Linked DNA regions of Homo sapiens: regions 2 and 3 are each linked to region 1. Evidence: promoter capture Hi-C in 16 types of primary human blood cells and fetal thymus (Javierre and others, 2016). All regions are on one chromosome and are shown on one strand. The core of a region is centred on a gene start or on the middle of the fragment in contact, and the rest is flanking DNA. Distances in the headings are between cores, read along the strand shown.

Region 1 (4,142 bases), core at 418-2,917:
AGAAAAATTAAAATCCATTGGGAAGAAACCTTGACATTAATGAAAAACATATATAATATTATAGTCATCGATCCTCATAAACACAATGGCCCCATTTGATAGATTTTTACTTCTCTCATTTTGGATCTCCACTGAACTCTAAGTCACATTCAATCATTGAAATGGCTTAATAATCAGTGGCTTAAAACTTGGGGTATTTATTATAGAAGTGACCAGTATATAATGACCAATCATTACCATATGAAATTACAATCCTTTTCAGTATCATGCAATGTTAAGTGGGAAAAGTTCAAGAAAATATTCTAAAGATATGTTCTCTTGCATAAATATTCCTATTACAAATGTGTGTCAAAGACCACTATAAAACTAAAATTCACTTCTTTCTCATACATGTTCATCTGTCAGTGTTTAAAATTCTATTGGCTAACAATTAAAGTGTATACTTTGTCTGGATTCTCACTCAGAAAAAACCTACATAAAGACATAGTTTCTGAGACACAAGGAATTTAAAATGAACTGGATATTATATGACTCCAGAGGATTATAGCCAATGTGTTAGGTGTGATAATGGCACAGGGTCATGTGAAAAAGTGTCCATACTTTAAAAATATACATACTAAAGTACAAATAGGTGAAATGAGATTTGCTTTAAAATATTTTAGCAAAGAATTGAATCTGACAATTGTTGAATCTTGGTAATGAGTTTCTGGAGGTTCATGTATTATTTTTGTATTATTTTTCAGAGTTTTGTGTAAGTTTGAAATGTTCCATAATAATTTTTTAAAATTTAAAAACATTATATTGTCTAGATACACTCATAAAGAACTCAGGCAGGGAAAAAACGTTTAAATTTAAAATTTAAATTTTAAACTGAAGTGCAGTTTTAAAAATTTGAATTTTAAATTTAAAAACTGAAGTGCAAAAATTATGAAATTGACATTTAAAAATCTATTCTTTTATACAGCTAATATGGATTTCATCTAACTTAAGGAAAAGCTTTAATGAAGACCCTGTTAAAAGTTTGTATCAAATGAGGACTTATAATGCTTTACTCCAAAGCAACAAAACGCATATGCCCAAAAGATGTATAAAAACAGGCATACATTTAGGAAAAAAAAAAAAGGCAGCCTTTTCTCTGCTACAAATATTTAAAACTCACAGTATACTCTTTCTATCTCAAAGACTTTTAAAAATTATTTTCCATCTTTAGGGAAAACCATATGAGAAAATAACTCAGCAACATGTCTGTGAATAATGCCTAGCAAAGCTTAAAAAAAAAAAAAAAAAAAAAAAAAAGCTTCTAGCCAAAAAGACTAACAGGAAAAAATGAACATTTTCAAAAGCATTTTGGAACCTTATTCCAGCTACCTCCATGCTAAGCCCTCTTTTTCCTCCCAAAATACGTCACTTAACTGTCTGTCAAATAACTCTTGCCCATTCTACCTGATCACACTCTGAAGCTGCAGCTTTTCCTGGATTCTCTTCTCAATGACAAGCTGTTCAAACAGAGAACACCTATCAAAACGAATATCATCATCTGCTCCTTTCTTTCTTCCTTTCAGGATATACTGCTGTCCAGCAGGGGAAGTAATTAATGAGTTTTTTATGTATGGCAGCGTCATCCCATCAGTTTGCTGTCTGGTTTGAATAGCTCCTATCAGCTCTTCATTCATGCCAAGTACGCTCACCGTCCAGAGACATGATAAAGCCGTACTTCCTTCTGGATTTTTACCTCACTATTCAAAAAACAGGGTACCAGAAGCATGGGTTACAAAAGCATGAGGAGGACAGAAGAAATGCCTTCATCTTCTACAGAAAGGAAGCTGATGGACTGAAAAGTTCGTATGGAGAAAGGAAAGCAAGAGTGCAAGAACATCCATGCTTCTAGTCCAGATAATGTTTTTTAAAGCAGCTTGATTTGGAAGCGTGTGTAATTCTGAAATACGAACAAGCAGAACTTTTCCAGGGGGTCAAATGCATATAGGAACAACCAGGATTTCTCATTGCTGAAGCATTCAATGAATCTTTAATAAGTTCTCAACACTCAGATTGTTTGTGATCAGATCAACTGCTGTTACCAGATAAAGGCAAAACTCACCCTTCTGGTTCTATAATCCTATCCAAATGGAGTCTTCATCTACCGCATACTATCCTAACTAATGCTACAGGATTATCAGGAATACAGATATAAAGACACTGCAAGAAATAAAACACTGGCAAAATAAAACATGAAAGGAAAGTAGAGAAGGCATTTTGGGTCTCGAAGCTTACTATTTCCAGCCAGAGTTCAAATTACTGAGCTTCAAACAAACCACTGCCAGGTAAGATTTAATTTTATAACCTTAATTTATATCTTGTCTACTGAAATTAAATCTGCTCGTGCTGTGAATGAGATAGTGGATTTGAATTTCTTGCAACCCTTCCTTAAGCTTTTGCAGATTTAAGCTGAGGTAAACGCTTGTTTTTACTTATGCTGCATAAACAAGTCACTCAGAACTAGATAATAAAGCATCCAAAACTCCCATTCATTTTTCATTGAATTTGTCTCATCTTTGTCTTTATTTTTATCCCAATTTTGTTTTATTTAATAGCTTGAAAAAAATGCATGAAGAGAGCCCTGAATGGTGCATAAGAGCCATTCACAGATAATGTTTACCAACAATATTCAAATGAACTTAGTTTCCCAGAGTACTTGATAAAACAAAGAAAAATTAATAAGCATTTTAAATATTTTTATTCATATAAAGGAACAAAAGCTCAATGACTGATTTCTATTGTTACTAAGAAAAAAAAGCTGTGATGTCATTTCATTCATACTAAAGAAAAATAATCTCTACTAAATCGAGGTATAACACTCTTGTAGGATAGGGCTAATTTATCCTAAAGATACTAGACATTTTTATAACAGACTAAATGAAGACATTTTTCTGATTCAACAAGAGGATAAAAAGATGAAAGATGTCTGGTACCTTAAAACCTCAAAAGCTTTGACTCAGGTCAGTGGTCCAAACTGTAAAATGCAAAGCACTAGTGAAGCCATCAAAGGATTTTAAAAGATACAGTGCCTTTAAGAAATTCCCTAGAAATCACTGCATAATGAGACTTCTAGAGTGACAATCTTATGTAAAAACAACAAAACGTTATCATTTAGCAGAAATCCCAACCACATTGGTTTTCATGAGTTTCATTGGAAAACTTAGGTCCAAAGCACCTTATCATAAAGAAGTCCTACAACAAATAATATTTATATTATCTTAGAAGAGAGGAGACAGGGAAACAAGAGCATATCACACCTAACTACGGAGATCTTGTGGTAATATACATAAAGTTATCAGAAGTAAGTATTCAATACTTGTCTAAAAGTAGTCAAATTAGAAATTCTCTTCCATTTCACTGAATTCTTTCCTTTTTTCAAATTTTAGTTAAGGGAGTAAATTATATGATCCCTTCAGGCTTTTCAAGACAGTCTATAAATAACCTTAAATATCATAAGTCTTTTACATCTGAAGTCATTACAGAAACTTACCTGTCATTTTCCAGTACCAAAGGAAAGCAGCAATTTAATACAAGTAGTGATTATCTAATACAACAATTTGTTTCAGAGAAAAAAATGTTTATTTAGAAATCTCAAAATACTTCTTATGCATACCAGACATAACTAAAAGTTAAGGGTGGTATTGTTGTTGTTTACCTACACTGAGAAACAGCTGAACCCTTAAGGGTTCTTTTCATCTGTTCCCTCCTTATTATGGTATTACAGTTTGTAAACAGACATGATTCAAAAATATGTAGATATTTTAAATGAAGAATATTAATCAATATTTTAAATTATAATTAAAGATTTTTTAATTAACTTGGACAAAAGTATGAAATTTCTACTATGCTCAATTTGCTTCCAATAAATGGAATTAAAGGGGGCAGATAACAATATTCCTTAAGTGTTCTGGATTTTATTTACTCATTGTAATGTAAACAGAGACTCATATCCCACTAATTTGGGGGCTTTGTTTCTATAACTCACCTTCTAATGACAATGGCTGGGCAAATGAATACTACCTTGCTCCACCCCAATTTGGTCCTTGTCAGCATCAATCCCAGTGAATTTTCACTTTCTTTCCTTTCCAAATCAAGGCTTTGCTCTA
Region 2 (4,142 bases), core at 671-3,170, 260 kb before region 1:
TCATGCCATTCTCCTGCCTCAGCCTCCTGAGTAGCTGGGACTATAGGCACCCACCACCATGCCTGGCTAACTTTTTGTATTTTTAGTAGAGATGGGGTTTCACCGTGTTAGCCAGGATGGTCTCAATCTCCTGACTTCGTGATCCACCCGCCTCGGCCTCCCAAAGTGCTGGGATTATAGGCATGAGCCACCGCACCCGGCTACCAGGCCACTTCTTGAACACTTTGCTGCTTAGAAGTTTCTTCCACCAGGATACCCTAGGTCATCACTCTCAAGTTCAAACTTCCATCGATCCCTAAGGCACGAACAGAATGCAGCCAAGTTCTTTACTAATGTGTAATATGCATGACCTTTGCTCCAATTCCAAATAAGTTCCTCATTTCCACCTGAGACCTCAGCAGCTTGGACTTCACTGTCAGCATTTTGGTCACAACCATTTAACTGGTCTCCAAGAAGTTCCAAACTTTCTATCATCTTCTTCTGAGCCCTACAAACACTTTCAATCTCTGCCACCTACCCAGTTCCAAAGCTGCTTCCACATTTTCAGGTATCTTTATAGCAATACCCCAATCTTTGGTACAAATGTTCAGTATTAGTCCATTCTTGCATTACTCTAAATAAATACCTGAAACTGGGTGATTTGTTAATAAAAGAAGTTTAATTGGCTCGTGGTTCTGCAGGCTTTACAGGAAGCATGGTGCTAGCATCTGCTTGGCTTCTGGTGAAGCCTCTGGGAGCTTTCAATTGTGGCAGAAGGTGAAGGGGGAATAGGCACATCATAGGGTGAAAGCAGGCATAAGGCAAGGGGGAGGTGCCACACACTTTTAAATGGCCAGATCTCTTAAGAACTCACTGTTGTGAAGACAGCCTCAAGCCATGAGGGATCTGTCCCCATGATTCAAACACCTCCCACCAGGCCCCACCTCCAGCATTGGGGATTACAATTCAACATGAGATTTGGGCAGGGACAAATATACAAACTGTATCAAGGACTGAATGGTGATGATGATGGCTGAGCCTAGGTATGTTGAGAGAAAAGGAACAGAGGTCACATTGAAGCTTAAAGATTTTTGAGGGTAGAGAGAAAGAAATAAGGATGTCAGAAGAAGCAAAATGGTTTGAGATGGAAGGTAATAAGCTTGGCTTGGGTCACATTATATTGATTTTTCTGTGTACAGTACCCATATAGAGATACCCCTAATTGAATTTGTAGGATAGAAATCAATCAACAGATTAGAACTAAGTAGATTTGCAGTCCATTGGTAGCTCAAATGCTTCACAGTAGGTTGCCACAGGTGAAGGCATGAAAAAGAAAAATGTGGAGAGTATGAAAAAGAAAAATGAGAATATTTCTGAATACTTAGGAGGAGGAATAGTGGCTCAATCACAACAGAATGTTACAGAAGAGTTTGGAGTAGAGAATGGAGTAACTTGGGTTCAAATTTGGCTCTATCATTTACTAGTTGTGTGAATTGAAGCAAGTTAGTCAAAATACCTAACCTCAGTGCTTTTTTATGTGTAAAACAGAGATGATAATAATGTATGCCTCACAGAGTTGTGAGGCTTAAATGAAATAATCCATGGAAAACTTAGATCAGCCCAGTGCCACAAACCTTATAAACTTGTAGTTATGATAGTTGTTGTTCATGATCTTTACGAGAGTGGTAGGGCATTTGAAATGGGAAAACTGTAATAAACAGATTTCTTTGGAATCTCAAAGCCCTTTATAAGTCCTTATGTCTAAAAGGTGATTCAAAAGGACTTTCTGAATACCTTTGTGAACTCTGCTCAGCAATGTAAGATAAAAGTGATATAAGGAATCGTGGCAGATGATGGAAGTATTCATGGTGGGTGATGGTAGATGATGGTGGGTGGTGGTATATGATTATGGTGGGTGATGGGGTGTTCATGGTGGGTAATGGTGAGTGGTAGTGGGAATTGTGATAGTGGGTGATGAATGGTGATGATGCTAGTGATAGTGGAATATGATAGTTGGTCAGTGGTTATAGTGAGTTGTAGGGTGACTGAGGTGGGTGGTGGTTAGTGAAGGTAGACATGGTGATGGTGGTGGCTGATGATGATGGTGATGATGGGATATGATGGTTGGGTGGTGCATGGTCATATAGGGGGGTTATAAGGGTGAGTGTGGTGAATGATGGTGAGTGATGATGGGGGTGGTGAGGGTTGTGGTGAGGATAACAGCTAACACTTATTGAGCATTTACCATGTGCCAGGCACTGTTCAAAACACTTTTACATATATTAACTTTAATTATACGACAATCCAATGAGGGAAGCATCTTAGTCTGTTCAGGCTGCCATAACAAAATACCATAGACAAGGTAGCTTATAAACAACGTAAATTTATCTCTTACACTTCTGAAAGCTGGGAAGTCCAGGATCAAGGTGCTGGCAGATTCAGTGTCTGGTGAGGTTTCCTGGTTCATAGATGGTGCCTTCTCACTTTGTTCTCACATGGTGGAAGAGGCAAGGCAGCTCTCTGGGGCCTCTTTTGTAGTGGCACAAATCCCATTCATGAGGGCTCTGCCCTTATGACTTAATTACCTACCAAAGGCCCTACTGCCTAATATCGTCACCTGGACAGTTAGGATTTCAACATGAATTTTGGAGGGTGGGGGGGACACGAATATTCAGACCATAGCAAGTGGATACAATTATCTTCATATTGTAGATGAAGACCCTGAAGCTTAGATTAAATACCTTGCCCAGAGTCTCATAGGTAGTAGAAAGTAAAGCCAGAAATTGAATCAAGCAGTTTGACTCCAGAGGCCACAGTTTATGAACCATTGTGCACTGTTGTCTTCCTGTCTCCCTAATCAACAAGGAGAAACAACATTTTCTCCTTTGAGCTTGTCAAAAATGGTGGTATTATTTAATCACTGTTTGGTGCTAATTTTAAAAATTTTAAGCCATATCAAAAGCTTTTAATATATCAAAATAATGGAATTAGAAAACTCTTTCTAACATTAATTTACTATTATTTCTTAATGTTTGTAGTAAATCTTCTTAAATATTTGTCTTTAAGAAAATGTTTTAAGGCATATAATTTGCTTCACTTTATTTTTATTAGCTGTTGAGAAGCCTTGGGTTGTGTTTAACTCTGGAAGTAATGAAGTCGTTAAGCTTCTATTTTCCCCGCAGTTGCAGGCACTGTAGCCAGGCTAAGCACAGATGTGTTTGGGTGTCTGTGATTAATCCCTTCCTATTGTAGACTCTGAGAAGGAAAAGGTTTCCTATCAATCCACAAGAAAAAGGGAAAAGTTATTCTGTGTTTTCTTAGAGTCCTTGGAGAGTTATAGCGATATCTTCCCCAGACTACAAACTTAGTTTAAGGAACATAATATCTCCTAGCTTTGCTGAATCTGCTTTCCTAGGTAGATTTATTATCAGTGGCCATAACTTGGACATCCATCATGTGACATGTGAAGAGTCTATGAGGGGCTGTGAAACGTGATGCTCTAGAAGTCCTGCCCAGAAGTCACTTCCTACAACTCAAAGCAGGAAACAGAGAAAACCCAAGTAGAGTGATCAGAAACATGTATGGAATAATTACTAAAAACTTTGTAATCAACCACACCTACCTACATAGTGACACATGAGACATTGGCATGCCAAAATGATGGTGTTTATTGGAATCTGGTAGAATTAGTCAAGGGATGCATGAGGAAGAAGGCAAGTGTTGAATAACATCTTGAAATAAATGGATATAGTTTAACAAAGTCCTAAAGGGAGAGCATATGGATAGACTGTTGTGCTGGGAGACATACATCTTTTAGGGTTGAGAGTACAAAGTGTCATCTTAGCTTTGAAGGGCATACAAGGTGTAGACACTTAAGAATCATCTGGTTTATTTCTGCCCTTGTATTCATGTTTTTAGAGTCAGAAAGGGCATGTTAACCATTCTTCAGTGTGATTGGTACTAGACTAGGCATGGTTAGGACTAAATGTGTGACACATAGTTTTGTTCTCAAATTTATAAAACAGTTGAAAAGATTCAGCAAGCTCTTGAAAAATTAACCAATGGCAAAAGATTTAAATAACAGTTTAAGACAAATAGGAACAACATCGCAATGTTGTACTCAGGAGATACAATCATGCTAGAGTGATAAGAAGGTAGAATAT
Region 3 (4,142 bases), core at 711-3,210, 200 kb before region 1:
CCCATTTGTGTAAAAATCTCTGTGAAACATCATGATGTTTTAAATTCTGAGAACTGCCTGTGTAGTATGATCTCCATTTTCCAGATGAAGAAATTGAATTTCAGTTGGGTTAACTCTACTACCCAAAGTGACTCTTCTGAGTTAGGACAAGAATAAAAATGCAGTCCTGGCTGAGTGCGGTGGCTCACGCTTGTAATCCCAGCATTTGGGGAGGCTGAGGTGGGTGGATCACTTGAGGTCAGGAGTTTGAGACCAGCCTGGCCAACATGGCAAAACCCTGTCTCTACTAAAAAAACAAAAAAAATAGCTGGGCGTGGTGGCACGCACCTGTAGTCCCAGCTACTCTGGAGGCTGAGGCAGGAGAATCGCTTGAACCCAGGAGACGGAGGTTGCAGTGAGCCGAGATGGCACCACTATACTCCAGCCTGGACAAGACAGTGAGTCTCCACCTCAAAAAGAAAAAAAAAAAAAGAAAAAAAGAAAAACCAGTCCTCTGTATCCACGTGAAGTATGATTTATCCTGCACCCTAATTACTTACTCTAAGTTAAGACAGGAGACGCCCCATGCTATCAAAATGAGATACTCTTAAAATCAGGTGCTGACCGAAGACCTCCTAAACATTTGCAGGATGCACCAGTGTGTTTTGTAAGAAGCTAGGGAAACAGTGAGTAAAGTGAGATATTCAGATAATCCAACAGAGGGCAGGTGTGTCTGTTTTCTTTATCTACTTTTCTTAGATTATTAATTCATGGAAATGTAACATTTGTTCAACCAGGCACCATTTGTCACGGCTGGAATACAACCTAGAGCCGATCAGCCTTGCAAATAGCTTTCAAATCCATCAGTGTGCTTGCTGCCCTCCCACAGAAGCAGTCGTGTTTGCACTGAATGTGTCTGCATTGCCAGATTTCTCTTCTTTGCAATCTTCGCCCTTGCGCCACCTTTTCTGCATCTGCAGCCCTTTGCCCGTGGGTCTCAGACTCTCCCTGAGATTCCTTTCATTTATTGTCTTCAAACTCTGAGATGGAGGAGAGGCACTTGGGGACTCGGGGCCCTCATAACTCTGGGCTAAAGACGGTGCTTCCAGTTAAATCCCAGGTTCCATAGGGAACAAGCAGTAGCCTTTGGAAATTTCAGATCCTGGCCTTGGCATGCCTAAGAAAGCACTTCTGACAATGAGATTAGCCATGTTAGTATGAGGATCAAACAACCCAAATATCTGCCTTTGTTAGAAAAACATTGTTTTGTGTTTACACAGAACATGTGTCCAACTTGAAGCATTTTCACCAGAAATACCTGAGTTTACCTGCCCCTAACTCTGAAACCCGAGTCCTATGATGACTCTCTACAGTGAGAAAGTTACCACACAGAGCAGTTAAGGGGCTTCCCCAAGACAGCCCAGCTAATCACAGAGGAACAGAGCCCACATTCCACAGGGTTAGCCCCTCGCTTCAGCTCCATGAGTTTGCATCAACTACCCGTCTCTGAAAAAAAAACCATGGGAAGAAAAAAAGAGCAGCCGATATTTAATTTCACCCTAGATGGCTGCCACGTTTCTGGTAACTTATTGTGTGTTCTCTTAAGCTATAGGCCAGGGGGTCCCAACTCTTTTCCACTGCAAGACCAATTAACTAGCCATGGGAACTTTTGTTGTGATTTTCCAGTAGACAGTCCAAAAAGACTCAGGGCATTTATTGAAAACATTTAAAGGTGAGCAGGTTTTCATCCCCATCAACACTCAGGATATATTCCTTCCCCATTTGAGTTGTCCTATGGAAGACTTCTGCCCTGAATGGGGTAAGGAGCTCCGTGATGAGTTATGAATCAGAAACTGGGAATGTGTCACCAGGGGACCCCGTGGCCTATCCAGGTGGCTTTTTTCTCTCTTCTTTTTTCCCTCTTTCTATTCCACTGCTTTCTGAAGCAACTGCAAAGTTCTTGTCTAGCCATGCCAGTGTCAGTAATGTCAGTTCTGAGCAATCTCTTCCCAAGAGCCTCAGCAACACAGGTCAAATGATGGCCACAGTGCCCCTAGGTGAGGTCCATTAGCAGCATGTTCAGAAACAGCGATGGACTCCTTTCTGACATCACAAGGCCCTCATTAGGCACTGTGGAAAGTCAAACAATGAGGCACAGCTGAACCTTCAGTGGTTCCACAGTGGAAAATATGGGTGAAAGCATAAAGGAGAGTCAAAAAACACAAAAATATACAACATGGGCCTTTCCTAGTTTCCAAGGACCCAGTTAGAACAGTGACCTGGTCAGGCCTGGAGACTAACTGGAGATGACAGAGAATACACAATTCTTAAAACGTTTTTGTTTAACACAATCTCACCTTGTACCTGAACCATTAACACTTTTCCAATCCCAGCTTCTTGCCAACCTCCCAACTAAAACTTCATACCCTCAATGGAAGGCTACAAAATGGTTTGCAATCCATTGCAACAAGGGGAAAATCATGCTTTTTTCCGGAGTCTTCATTTATCCCTGAATGTCACACAAATGAACGTTTCAGTACATGGTACTCTATAGCAAAGTATACTTTGCACTGGGTCACTGCAAAATACTATAACTGTTTCAGAGGGATTGTGTTTAATAAAGATGGAGCTGCCTGCAAGGTACCTTTCATGATTCTCCAAGGCAGTGTGAACCACACATGTTCCTGAGTGTGGACCAGAGGATTCTTTGCTAGGAACATAGTGCATCTCCCTAGAATGCCACTCTGTGCTCTCTGTTTCACAGTGTAAGGGACATTGGGGTGGGGGATACAAAGCGTGAGTCCTTTAATCTCTGTGACTTTCTGAATTGCTTTCTTTTCTGCTTCAGCCTGTTCTGCAAACTTGCCGCTCTCGTTAGACACAGAATTTCCCTCTTTGGTAAGTGAAGTGTTGCTCAAGGTACCGCTCCTCCCTGTAATTATCTTGAACTTGCACTTTGCCTTTATTTGTGTCTTCCTCAGACAACCCGGGCCTTGGGACTAAGGTGTCACCTAAATTTGCCATAGAAAATTGATCTGAAGCATGATAAATGACCTCTTTACCCTTTTAACTGCTCAGATTTTCCACACCAATGAAAATTTTAAGCTCTACCTCTGACATCCATCATAAAGCAAGGCTGTGTCAGGCTAGAAATTAATGCATTGTCGCTGAACACAGGCCCAGGACTTTATGTGTTGGTAGTTAATTACGCTGGGGCTGTGGCTTGTGCATATGGAGAAGACTGCATTTGAAAGACAGGCTGAGTGGTTTGAGGGAATCACAGATGATTTTTTTTATTCCAGGTAGTGATTCTACTACAATGGTGAGCTGTCTTCACATCTTAGCTCAGACACTTGACACAAGGTAAGTCTGCCCAGTTTTTCCCAATAGTTTCTCATGACTTCCTCTCTGACCCTCTCATCTCACTAATTATACTGAAGAGAAGACAGATCGCTGCTGCCAGGCTTTGAGAAGAGAGGAGAGACAGGGCAAAGACCCTAGAAGTTAGCACTCTCTTTTTCTCAGTTCACATAACGAGAGCCACTGCCATGGCATAGACGGAATGCAAAGGCCTGATCAATTCTTATCTTTCCTTCCTAAGAAGTTTGTCTTTCAGAAGATAAAATATATAATGTGGCAAACCCCACTGGTGGGTGGTGAATCTACAAATGTTATGGGAAAGATGAACCACAGCGCTCTGAATTCAAAATGGCCAAGGAAGGAAATGCACAGAGATCTGGCTTCAAAAGAATCAGAGACAAAGACGTTGATGCCATGGCCTAGGGATTTGGGAAGAAGTCTTAAAAAATAATACATAAGTTCTGGTAATAACACAAATGATGAGACTGAAAAGAGAGACGCAGGCCAGGCGCGGTGGCTCATGCCTATAATCCCAGCACTTTGGGAGGCCGAGGCAGGCAGATCGCTTGAGCTCAACAGTTCAAGACCAGCCTGGGCAACATGGTGAAACATCTACAGAAAATACAAAAACTAGCCAGGCATGGTGGTGCATGCCTGTAGTCCCAACTACTCGGGTGGCTGAGGTGGGAGGATGGCTTGAGCCCAGGAGGTGGAGGTTGCAGTGAGCTGAGATCACGCCACTACACTCCAGCCTGGATGACAGAGCCAGACCCTGTCTTAAAAAATATATATAAATAAGAGAG

The links. The method cuts DNA at HindIII sites, captures the fragments that hold promoters and counts their contacts. A CHiCAGO score of 5 or more calls a contact.
Region 2: a fragment that was not itself captured here is called in contact with the fragment with the promoter of CHRM5 in region 1 in 1 of 17 cell types (erythroblasts); the score reaches 5.1 in erythroblasts.
Region 3: a contact is called between a fragment that was not itself captured here and the fragment with the promoter of CHRM5 in region 1, in 1 of 17 cell types (endothelial precursors). The highest score is 5.1, in endothelial precursors.

Annotation. Positions count from the first base shown.
Region 1 is chr15:33,966,830-33,970,971 of GRCh38, forward strand. CHRM5 (cholinergic receptor muscarinic 5) reads left to right here and starts at 1,668. Exons shown (of 3, transcript NM_012125.4): 1 at 1,668-2,321. All of the region lies in intron 2 of AVEN (apoptosis and caspase activation inhibitor), which reads right to left. The HindIII fragment of the contact is 969 bases long and covers 1,296-2,264 here.
Region 2 is chr15:33,711,341-33,715,482 of GRCh38, forward strand. The region is part of intron 43 of RYR3 (ryanodine receptor 3); the gene reads left to right. Among named protein-coding and RNA genes, the nearest start is that of CHRM5, 260 kb to the right of the region's middle. The HindIII fragment of the contact is 1,568 bases long and covers 1,137-2,704 here.
Region 3 is chr15:33,765,831-33,769,972 of GRCh38, forward strand. RYR3 (ryanodine receptor 3) reads left to right here. Exons shown (of 104, transcript NM_001036.6): 61 at 2,828-2,877; 62 at 3,282-3,342. Among named protein-coding and RNA genes, the nearest start is that of CHRM5, 200 kb to the right of the region's middle. The HindIII fragment of the contact is 6,297 bases long and covers 1-4,142 here.